Regions from separate parts of the Homo sapiens genome. Here regions 1 and 3 are each linked to region 2. The links are contacts of gene promoters, found by promoter capture Hi-C in human tissues and cell types (Jung and others, 2019). All regions are on one chromosome and are shown on one strand. The core of a region is centred on a gene start or on the middle of the fragment in contact, and the rest is flanking DNA. Distances in the headings are between cores, read along the strand shown. Region 1 has its middle 120 kb from the start of SEM1. Region 2 holds the start of DLX6 (distal-less homeobox 6). Region 3 has its middle 62 kb from the start of SEM1.

Evidence for each region. The method cuts DNA at HindIII sites, captures the fragments that hold promoters and counts their contacts. A contact is called where the count stands out against the background at its distance.
Region 1: a fragment that was not itself captured here is called in contact with the fragment with the promoter of DLX6 in region 2 in 1 of the 25 tissues and cell types used here (thymus).
Region 3: a fragment that was not itself captured here is called in contact with the fragment with the promoter of DLX6 in region 2 in 2 of the 25 tissues and cell types used here (bladder and thymus).

What each region holds. Positions count from the first base shown.
Region 1 is chr7:96,831,841-96,835,108 of GRCh38, forward strand. No RefSeq gene overlaps it. Among named protein-coding and RNA genes, the nearest start is that of SEM1, 120 kb to the left of the region's middle. RefSeq lists an enhancer at 1,844-2,339. The HindIII fragment of the contact is 5,301 bases long and covers 1-3,268 here.
Region 2 is chr7:97,003,947-97,007,069 of GRCh38, forward strand. It overlaps DLX6 (distal-less homeobox 6), which reads left to right and starts at 1,607. Exons shown (of 3, transcript NM_005222.4): 1 at 1,607-2,467. The coding sequence starts at 2,032. All of the region lies in intron 1 of DLX6-AS1 (DLX6 antisense RNA 1), which reads right to left. RefSeq lists an enhancer at 324-1,045 and a silencer at 2,358-2,457. The HindIII fragment of the contact is 17,411 bases long and covers 1-3,123 here.
Region 3 is chr7:96,770,374-96,773,523 of GRCh38, forward strand. No RefSeq gene overlaps it. Among named protein-coding and RNA genes, the nearest start is that of SEM1, 62 kb to the left of the region's middle. The HindIII fragment of the contact is 5,784 bases long and covers 1-3,150 here.

The DNA of each region.
Region 1 (3,268 bases), core at 371-2,870, 170 kb before region 2:
AGCAATCCTCCTTCTTAGCCCCCTGAGTATCTGGGACTATACTCAGGCACATGCCACCACACTTGGCTCCATTTTATGTCTTTTTTTAAAAAATCAGTCTACTTCATTGTTTCACTTCTATGCAGTAGAGATGCAACAGCAAAAATAGAGTGATAACTTCCCCCAGGCACACTGCTCTGCAAAAGCCACTGTTTCTTAGAGAAACACATATGAACACATTTCTAAGTTGTGCATGCTCAAATACATTTTGTAAATTATTATTCATAAAAATTCTTGGGTTTTATTAGTTTAGGGCTCAGTGAGCCTTCTAGCTGAACTATAGAGTTATGCAGTGTCTGGAAGCAGAATGGAGGGGGAAGCTAATTAACATAGTTCTTACATGACCAATGGAAATTCTTTATTTGCCCTCAGGATCTACATTGCTGTGTCTACTCAACACTGTTAAATATGACAAGGTCAGTAACCCTGTTTTTGTAAAAATGAATGTGAACAAACTTGGACCTCACACACATTGTCATTGTTTAACAGGGTCAACTGAGTTAACTGGGAGCATTATGCATGTATAGTGCCAAGAAGGCCCCATCAACAGTCAAGTATATAATGTTAACATATTAGCATAAGTAGTGGAGCAACAGATGGCCAAGCTAGAGCAAGTCAGATTAACCCGAAGATTCTGCACTAACTGTTGAGCCATAAGAGGGCTTTATATCTCAACACAGGAAACACTGGACAGGGACATGGGAGACCAGTGTTCTAGTCTTACCTCTGCCAGTTCCTTCCTAAAGGCTCAATTTCCACAGCAGTAGGATGAGCAATCTGACCAGAGGACATGGAAACCCCTTTTTGCTTGCAAAGCTATGATTCTAATGCAGTCTACAGGATAAATGCATTGCCTGTATGAATTTCAATGACAACTTATTTTTAATACAGTGTGTTTTGTACCGAGCTTCTATTTTTATTCCTTTGGTATTTGGCAGAGAGGTGGGAGGTATAGAAAGATGAACTCTAGCAAATCTGATTACCTAAAGTGGCCTGTGTTCAGGAACTTAGAAGTCTCTACAAGTTGGATAAAGTAACAACTGACATGAGCTCCTTAGGCCTTGCAACATTATCAGTGCTATAACACAATCTATTTATCATCTTCTGAGAAACTCTGTTTAGAATTCCAGTGGGAGTTTGTGACTCCCTTTATAATTCCAATGAAATAAACACTATTAAATCAATTTTTTTAGATTAAGAAATGAAGTCAGTTCCAGTTAAGTCATGTTAGGACAATTTAAAACCTTAACCAACAATTACTTTTTAAATGTATGTTGTTAAAATTTGCTTTTTTTCTGTCATTATACATACATCCAACAATTCATAATATCAGATAAATACTAGGCAAATACTATTACAGGGTGGAACTATAAGTTGCCTAGAAGGAAGAAAATATTCTATGAACATGAAACAAGCTTCTTTTGGTGAAAGAAAGGGAAACAAATATAAAATAAAAACTATCTAATGGAAAAGTACTATAAAGTATTGTAGATTGGCATATAAATAAGCCAAAGGATATGAGGGAAGGAGTGTTGCTTTTAAATCCATTTAAGTGTAAATAGACATCTTAGAAAACAATTTATTTTTAATGTAAATTGTCCTAATGTTATAGTACAAATTTCCTTTACATATCGTATTGGTTAAACTGTGTCTTTTCAACCCTAATTTTTTTATATTAAATTGTAAATGTTTGTACTGAGCCTTTTAAATGCTTGATGCAGTGTTATTATTCTGCAGCAAAACATTTCTGATGCACAACATTATTTTAAAATAAATCTCTCAAGATGATCATAGTTGCTGAAGTCCCCTGAAATTTATGGCATTTAAGAATAGATGTGTGTTTCTTCGGTGTGGGAGTTCTTCAAGGGAATTTTTAACTGCTGATGCAAACGTTAGTAAGCAATGCACTTGTTTGGTTAAGACTTTTAGCCTTGACCTCAGGCTTTAAACCCTTGTCCTTTATTAATCACGTGTTTCCTGAATCAAAGAGAATACTTTTGGAGGGGGAAAATTGTTCTGGGACTGAAGGAGTGTTATATACCAAACAGACATGCCCAGATGACAAATAACCCCTGAATGATAGCCAGGGTTCATCCAGCTGGTCGGCCCCATATTATGTGATTGATGGTGTTGATGTTCTAAATAGGCCTAAGATGTGCCAAGTATAAGAGCCATAACAAAGTCCTTCAGATTTACACTGTAGATAGAAGGAGGAAGCGAGAAGGCATGTTCCCAGCACATGGCAATTCTAAGAATGGTGTCATGATTACAAGTAACCTTGCAGGGTTTGTCTGGTTTATTTCGAAGTTAAACAAAAACTATTTGTTGGTCAGGAATGAATAGGGTCACATAAGGTCTGTCTCAACCTTATGATTACTAAAATGTTTCTCTGTAACTGGACACCTTCTGAAGCTAGAATAACATTGGAATCCATTGTAGGGATCAATACACTGATTTTTCCTTTGCCTTTTGAGGCTTCTGAGAAAATAAGAAAGGTTCTTTGCTTTAAAAACGAGGTATTATCGTGACATATATTAAAGCCATTAAGTATTTGAAGTAAAATATCTCAAAGATTATTTATCCTAACTTCATTCTCTTTACATTTGGGAAAAGGGAATGGCATTTTTAATCAAGCAGAGTCACAATAACGCTATGTTTATTCCTTTAAAGCATTTATGAATAATTCTTTAGAAGCAAACAATACAGAAAAAAGCCAAAAACTCATATTTGAGCTTTTCAAGAAGACAATGATAGTACTTTCTATTTTAAAATGAATGTTAAATATACTTCATATGCATAAGAAGCTGTTATATTATTATTTTGTTGTTTTTTAATTTATTTTTTATTTCAATAGGTTTTGGGGGAACAGGTGGTGTTTGGTTACATGAATAAGTTCTGTAGTGGTGATTTCTGAGATTTTGGTGCACCCATCACCTGAGCAGTGTACACTGTATTCAATGTGTGTAGTCTTTTATCCCTCACCACCTCCACCCTTCCCCCGCACCAGTCCCCAAAGATCACTCTATCATTCTTATGCCTTTGTGTCCTTGTAGTTTAGCTCCCACTTATGAGTGAGAGCATACAATGTTTGGTTTTCCATTCCTGAGTTACTTCACTTAGAATAATAGTCTCCAATTCCATCCAGGTTGCTGTGAATGCCATTATTTAGTTCCTTTTTATGGCTGAGCAGTAATTCCATGGGGTGCATGTGCGTGTGTGTGTGTGTGTG
Region 2 (3,123 bases), core at 357-2,856:
GTCTCTAAGCAGATCGAAAGTCGGGGTCCAGACCGAGAGGATCTTCAGGTCTCGTCCACCCAATCTCAAGCCTCTGGAAGGGCGGGCTGCCGGCGACCTCCTCCAGTCCCGGGACCCGGAACCCGGGACCCTGGACGCCGGTGCGGGCGGGCCTGCCCTCCTCTGTGCCTGGCCCCCAGTCTGGCCCTCCTACCTGTTGACCAGGCCTGAACCACGCACCGGGGCTCCGCTGTCTCTGCTTGGCTGCCTTAACCTGCGTGGGTCTGGAGACCGGAGGGAGAAAGGCTAGATCCGCAGCCTTGGGCTGCTCCGAACTTAATGTCTTTCCCCAGTCCATCTTTGAAAGAGAAGTGGTTCTACCACCTGGATGTGCGGATATAAATCCCCTTGCAAATAATAAATGGATTAATAATAACAAGGTATGAAGTTCTTTTTATAGAAAAAAAGGAGAGAATTGAAACTAAATGCGGCAGTTAGACAACCATTTTGATAAGAGGATAATTGAGGCGACACTGGTGTATAATTAGAGGATAATTTATGCTATATCCACTTTTATTCCACCTCCCAAAATAAACCCAGTCCATAATCATTACAGGCAAATTGTTCTGAATTTTATAGCAGCAATTTGAACAAAGTACTGCAGTTAATCATGGGAGATTTTTGTGTATTCCTGATTAGAACTCTAATTGCCTCCTTCCAGAAAGTAAAAATAACTGTAAAACGACTCTATTTTTATCATTAACAATGTTGACAATAAAATAAAATCAATTGGAATTGTAATCGAGAGACAAATTTAGGACGAAGGCACTTTTACTTGGGTAGTTTATATTGTAATCAAGATTTGCCAAACCACTAACCGCATGTATCATTTGCATATATTTGAAAGCATTACAGTAGCTTCTGTTTTCAATAGGAAAAAATGCATTACTGTCAGTCCTCCAACGATTCGTTTTCAGAACACGCTGCTGCGTTCTGAAAAGAAAAAAAAGACGCCCCCCCCCCCCACAACCTTTTGTACAATATATAAGAAATACGGCCTGAAACGGCAGGGACCGAGCCAGAACAGGGTCTGATTTTTCTTTTTCTGTACCACCCCCCAGTGGGGTGGAGCCCAGGTGTGAGGGTTCGTCTTCCTTCTGTGGTTTCAATAAAATACGTCTAGAAAAATCCACGGTGACAAGGAGCTCCCACAAGAGTGTAGTAGGACCAGAGTGGCAGGGACGTCAAGAAAGGGGGGCCTGGATTTAATGCGGGGGTGGGGTCACTGCTTCTAAGCACAGGCAACCTACAAGGGTGCAAAGGGATTGAAAGAGAGCAGCCCCCAGTTGGCTGTTTCAAGGCTGAGATATTGGCAACTGGGGCTCCGGGATTTGGGGCACGAGCTGCGGCGGGAAGCATCGGCGGCCGGCCGGGCAGAGGCGCCTCCCTCCCCAACGGCCCCGGGCGCCACACAGCGCGGCCCCCGGCTGCAGCTCCGGCTGGGATTGGAACTGCGGAAGGTAGGCGAAGAACTCTGCAAGTCGCGCACACGCCAGTAGAAGCCGTGCGCCTGTGACGTCAGGGGGCGACTGACCAATGGGGAGGCACTGCCCTTTGGAGACAAACCATTCGACTCGTGGCGTCTGCATCAAGTCTGAAAGCAGACGCGCAACTTTCGCAGAATCCACCTTAAAATCTCTGCCTTAAACTGCACCAGCCCCCAAAAAATCCAAGGGGGGAAAGCAGGCGGGGGGAGAGCAGATTCCCCCCTCCCCCTCTCCTCTCCCATCCCTCCTCCTTCCTCCTCCCTTTGAGTTAACAAGGCCCCGCTCACTATATCTCTTTATATTAAATATATATATATATTAGAGAAGAGCGAGGGAGAGGGAGAACCACCTCCACCCCCCTCTTTAAATTCTTTTTTTTTTTTTTTTTTTTTTTTGCAAGGATCCAAAGAGCTAAGGTGGCTGCAGAGGGGAGAGCGGCGCGAGCCAAGTGGGGGAGGGTGGAGGAAACCCGGGAGAAGGCTTTCTCCAGCCCCCAAAGTTTTTGATGATGACCATGACTACGATGGCTGACGGCTTGGAAGGCCAGGACTCGTCCAAATCCGCCTTCATGGAGTTCGGGCAGCAGCAGCAGCAGCAGCAGCAACAGCAGCAGCAGCAGCAGCAGCAACAGCAACAGCCGCCGCCGCCGCCGCCGCCGCCGCCGCAGCCGCACTCGCAGCAGAGCTCCCCGGCCATGGCAGGCGCGCACTACCCTCTGCACTGCCTGCACTCGGCGGCGGCGGCGGCAGCGGCCGGCTCGCACCACCACCACCACCACCAGCACCACCACCACGGCTCGCCCTACGCGTCGGGCGGAGGGAACTCCTACAACCACCGCTCGCTCGCCGCCTACCCCTACATGAGCCACTCGCAGCACAGCCCTTACCTCCAGTCCTACCACAACAGCAGCGCAGCCGCCCAGACGCGAGGGGACGACACAGGTGAGAGGCCGCTGGGGCAGCTCGCTTCTCCCGCCTCCCGACTGCCCCCTACCCCGCCCGCCCGCTCACTTCCTCGACGCCCGGGCCTCCGCCGGCCCCCTCCCCCAGGCGGCCCCGCGCGCCCTTGGCCGGGCCCCGTGCGCGCCCGCTCGCCTGGCGCCTGCCTGCCGGCCTCTCCCAGCCGGGCCCCTTCCCGCCGCCGCGGACCCTCAGCTTCCGACGCGCAGTTCGGGCTGAGTCCCGGGCCCGGCGCAGGCTTCGTTCGACGAGTTAGTCCACACTGCGCTCTCCAGCCTCCTGGGTCTGTGCGCCCTTTTCCTTGCTCCTTCCCTCCAGGCTGTAACCCACGTTTGACCCGGCTGGGGACATTTCTGGGCCGGAACTGGGGAGCGTGTTTTGCTTCCCAGCCCACGCTGGGCAGGCAGTGGCCTACTTTGCGTGGGGCGCCCCGTGCTCCTCAGTGACTCGGAGGGAAGCTGGCCTGGCTTTCGCTCTGGTTAAACTAGTAACAGTCAGGCTCTTTCCAGTGGGCTTTAAAGTGTCCCTCACCTTCATCCCTGACCGGGCCCCCTATCTAGCTTTTCGCTACAGTGTTGGCTGCTCCTTTGTTCGTGGAGGGGAAGCAAAGAACCTCGGGCTGATGGTTCTCAGCACCC
Region 3 (3,150 bases), core at 491-2,990, 230 kb before region 2:
ATTAACAAAACAGACAAAAAACCAAACTCTGCCCCAGTGAAGCTCACATTCTAGTAGAGTGCTACCTCCAGCATGAATGAAGGTATCAGATTCTTCCCTCAGGTCATGTTTAACTCAGAGGAAGATAGATAAAGTTGGAGAGACACAGAGAACATGATGTGGACTAGTGGCTTCTCTGATCAGGGAGAGTGGTTTGGTAGATAAAGGGTGAATGACAGAGATCAATTCAACTGTTTTACAGTTTTGTTTGGGATAAAACCATTTACTTCTTTTAAAAAAGTGGAAAAAATTCTATTAAAAAAGTAGAAAGCATAAAAGTAGGCAAATTTAATGAATAAGGTGATTTTCCTTCCCTCTAACAAATCTGTTTCTGTTTTTCATGTGTTAATGTAATCTACCATCCCATCGGTCCGTCAGCACATCATGCTTATAGTTTTACAGTATGGCACTTCCCAGATAAGAATCCCATTCTTTCTTTTCCTCTTACATGATTTCAAGAGCTGTCTGGCGGTCAGACTGTTGAATTGAATTCAAGGATGCTTTCAGATTCGTGCCATGAAACAGGCAATTCACCTTATCTCCATAAGGCACATTACTGTCCCCCAGTGAATGACATCTGACAGAAACAGTAAAGAGTGACTTATCTAGAATCTAGCAAGCATTTCTTTTCCCAGGATGGGCTGAGAAAGGGATGTTAAAAGGAAGGCATGGCACGTAAATCTTGTGTAACCACAATGAGTACATTGTAAGTCAGCCCACATCAACCATTGTGGCTGGAAAACCTATACTATGGCACCTGTCCTTGCAGAACTGAAAATAGTGAAATTCCATTTCAACCGAAATCAAATAAAAAGTCCAATCGGCTGGATGTTCCAAAGACAGAGCCCCCTGTAGGTTTATTCATGGGGAAGATGCAGCCCCTGAAACTATGCATGAGACCAGAGTACATTTCTGTTGGGAGACCTTGTTGCTGAGTCTGGTGGGACCACGGAACCAGAGTTGCTACCAGGCATTCACTGTGGGGTAAAATAGGGTCCCAAGTTTTCCATTCAGTTATGGATGCAGTCTCTCAGAAATGCCTGTAAAAGTGCTATTGGCTGCTATTTTCTGCTGGAAACAGATTGAAACCTCAGTGTAAGTAAATAATCTCATTCTGAGGCAAAGAAAGACTTTCTAGTCCTCAGTGTGGGGCTTGTTTTAGAGTTTCACATGGAGTCATAAGGTGGGTATAACTGGGAATCAGTTCCAGATTTCCACTGGATTCTGTATACTGAAAATTGCAACATCAATGGACAATAAATTAGTTCACAGCTACTCTGGGTTTGATGCGTGGGAAATGTCATCACAATGGTTGTCTCCCAATTTATAAACCAGTAGAAATTTTTTTTTCTTGGAAAATTGGACACATATGTGGCTATGATTAGCCTCATGTTTATTTTTCATTTCTAAAAAGTATGAGTAAATGTCTACTACATTCGGTGCCCTGTGTGCCAGCATCAGTGGAGAATGGGTTTGGGCAGGGTTAATACTGTTTTTAAAAAATGATTATTAAAAATATTTATTGGGTAAAAATTTAAAACTAAAACTTGTCCTGAAGTTGAATATCCAACCTAAAATCAAATCCACCACGGCTTCATTGTGGTTAGAGGTGCTAATCAAAGATTAAGTGGATTTGCTTTATTGGGGATCCCCAGTTACCACCAAAGCACCTGTAATCTCTGAATTGTGGCCCTTTCTTGTAAAGCAATTCATTTGGTTCTTTCACATTTTTCCCCTTCAACCTCAACAGATTCCTGTGGCTTTTGTGTTATTTTTTCATCGCTCTGATTGAATAATTATTCCCATCCCATCTTGCTCATCTCCTTCTGCATCATATCTTTTGTTGCAGATTTAAACTTGCATGCACTCCCTCTTGTCTCTTCCCTAGTAAGTCCGCCCAGGAATGATTCTGCATGTGAATAGAAGGTGTTGACTGTTCAATATGTTTTGCATGTACTGTCAGCGGCTTTATTACTGCCTCTTTCCAGATCTTTGCCACTAAGAAGCATGAAGATGTTCATTTCAATAACTAGGCTCCTGTCATGTCACAATGGAATGGATGCCTGGGATCGTGTGGATGCTTTGAGTCATAATGAAGGTCGTGTCTAACTTGTGTCAGCAGCAAAGTGGCAAAGAATACAGAAATACCCTCATCAGAGGATATAGCAAAAGCATCCTCAGAGTGGAAGGAACCATTTTCCCAGAAACACCAGTCTTACTAATTTCTAGTGCCCAGCGGCTTGTAATCACAGTGAATGAACATGAAGTTTAAGATGGTGTAGGTGTCATTCAAAGAATGCTGAAGAGTCAAGATACATTCTCAATCAAAATGCAAGCACAAACTGAACTAATCTCTGAAGCCATTGTAGTATCCTCTTCTCTGCTAGATGTCCATCAATATCATAAATATGGCTGCTCTGGACCTATCTCAGTTTTGGATCCTATGAAAATTATTGAAATATATAACCATTCAAAAGAGAGAGTTGAACATTATGACAAGAAAGGATGTTTCTGCTATCTTGTTAAAGGTAGATACATTGTGTATTTATCATTTTGTTACACATATGCTAGACACACACAAACAGGGAACAAAGAATAAAATTCTATACATCAAAATATTAGCTGGGGATATCTCTGAGTGCTAAGATTACAGAAGAATGATATTTTTCCTTATGGTCATCTTTATTTCCACAGTGAATGAAAACAATGAATGTCATAGATTCTAAATTAAACCACAAGCAATTCAACTTCATATATAAAGGGCCCCCAAGGGGATAGGATCTAGATTAGAAACAAACACAACAGAAAGTCCATGTTACCATTATACGATTTCAAAAAGAGTAACTTAGGTGTTTTCATAATGATTTAGTGGTTCTAAAGCTGAAAACAAGTTATGATAGGTTCCAAATTAGTTTAGTTTTCACGGAGACTTTCAGTGTTCCCATTCACTGTTCCAATGTGTGTTTTGCTCATGTCTAATACTATTTTCAGATGGTTTGGGAGGAGAAAACAAAGATTTTGAAAGGCAGTGTCATCACATTTTATAATCATATTTGGAAAATAGCAATATTTTATTGTGCCCTTCTTTTAATATATATGTAGATGCCTTTC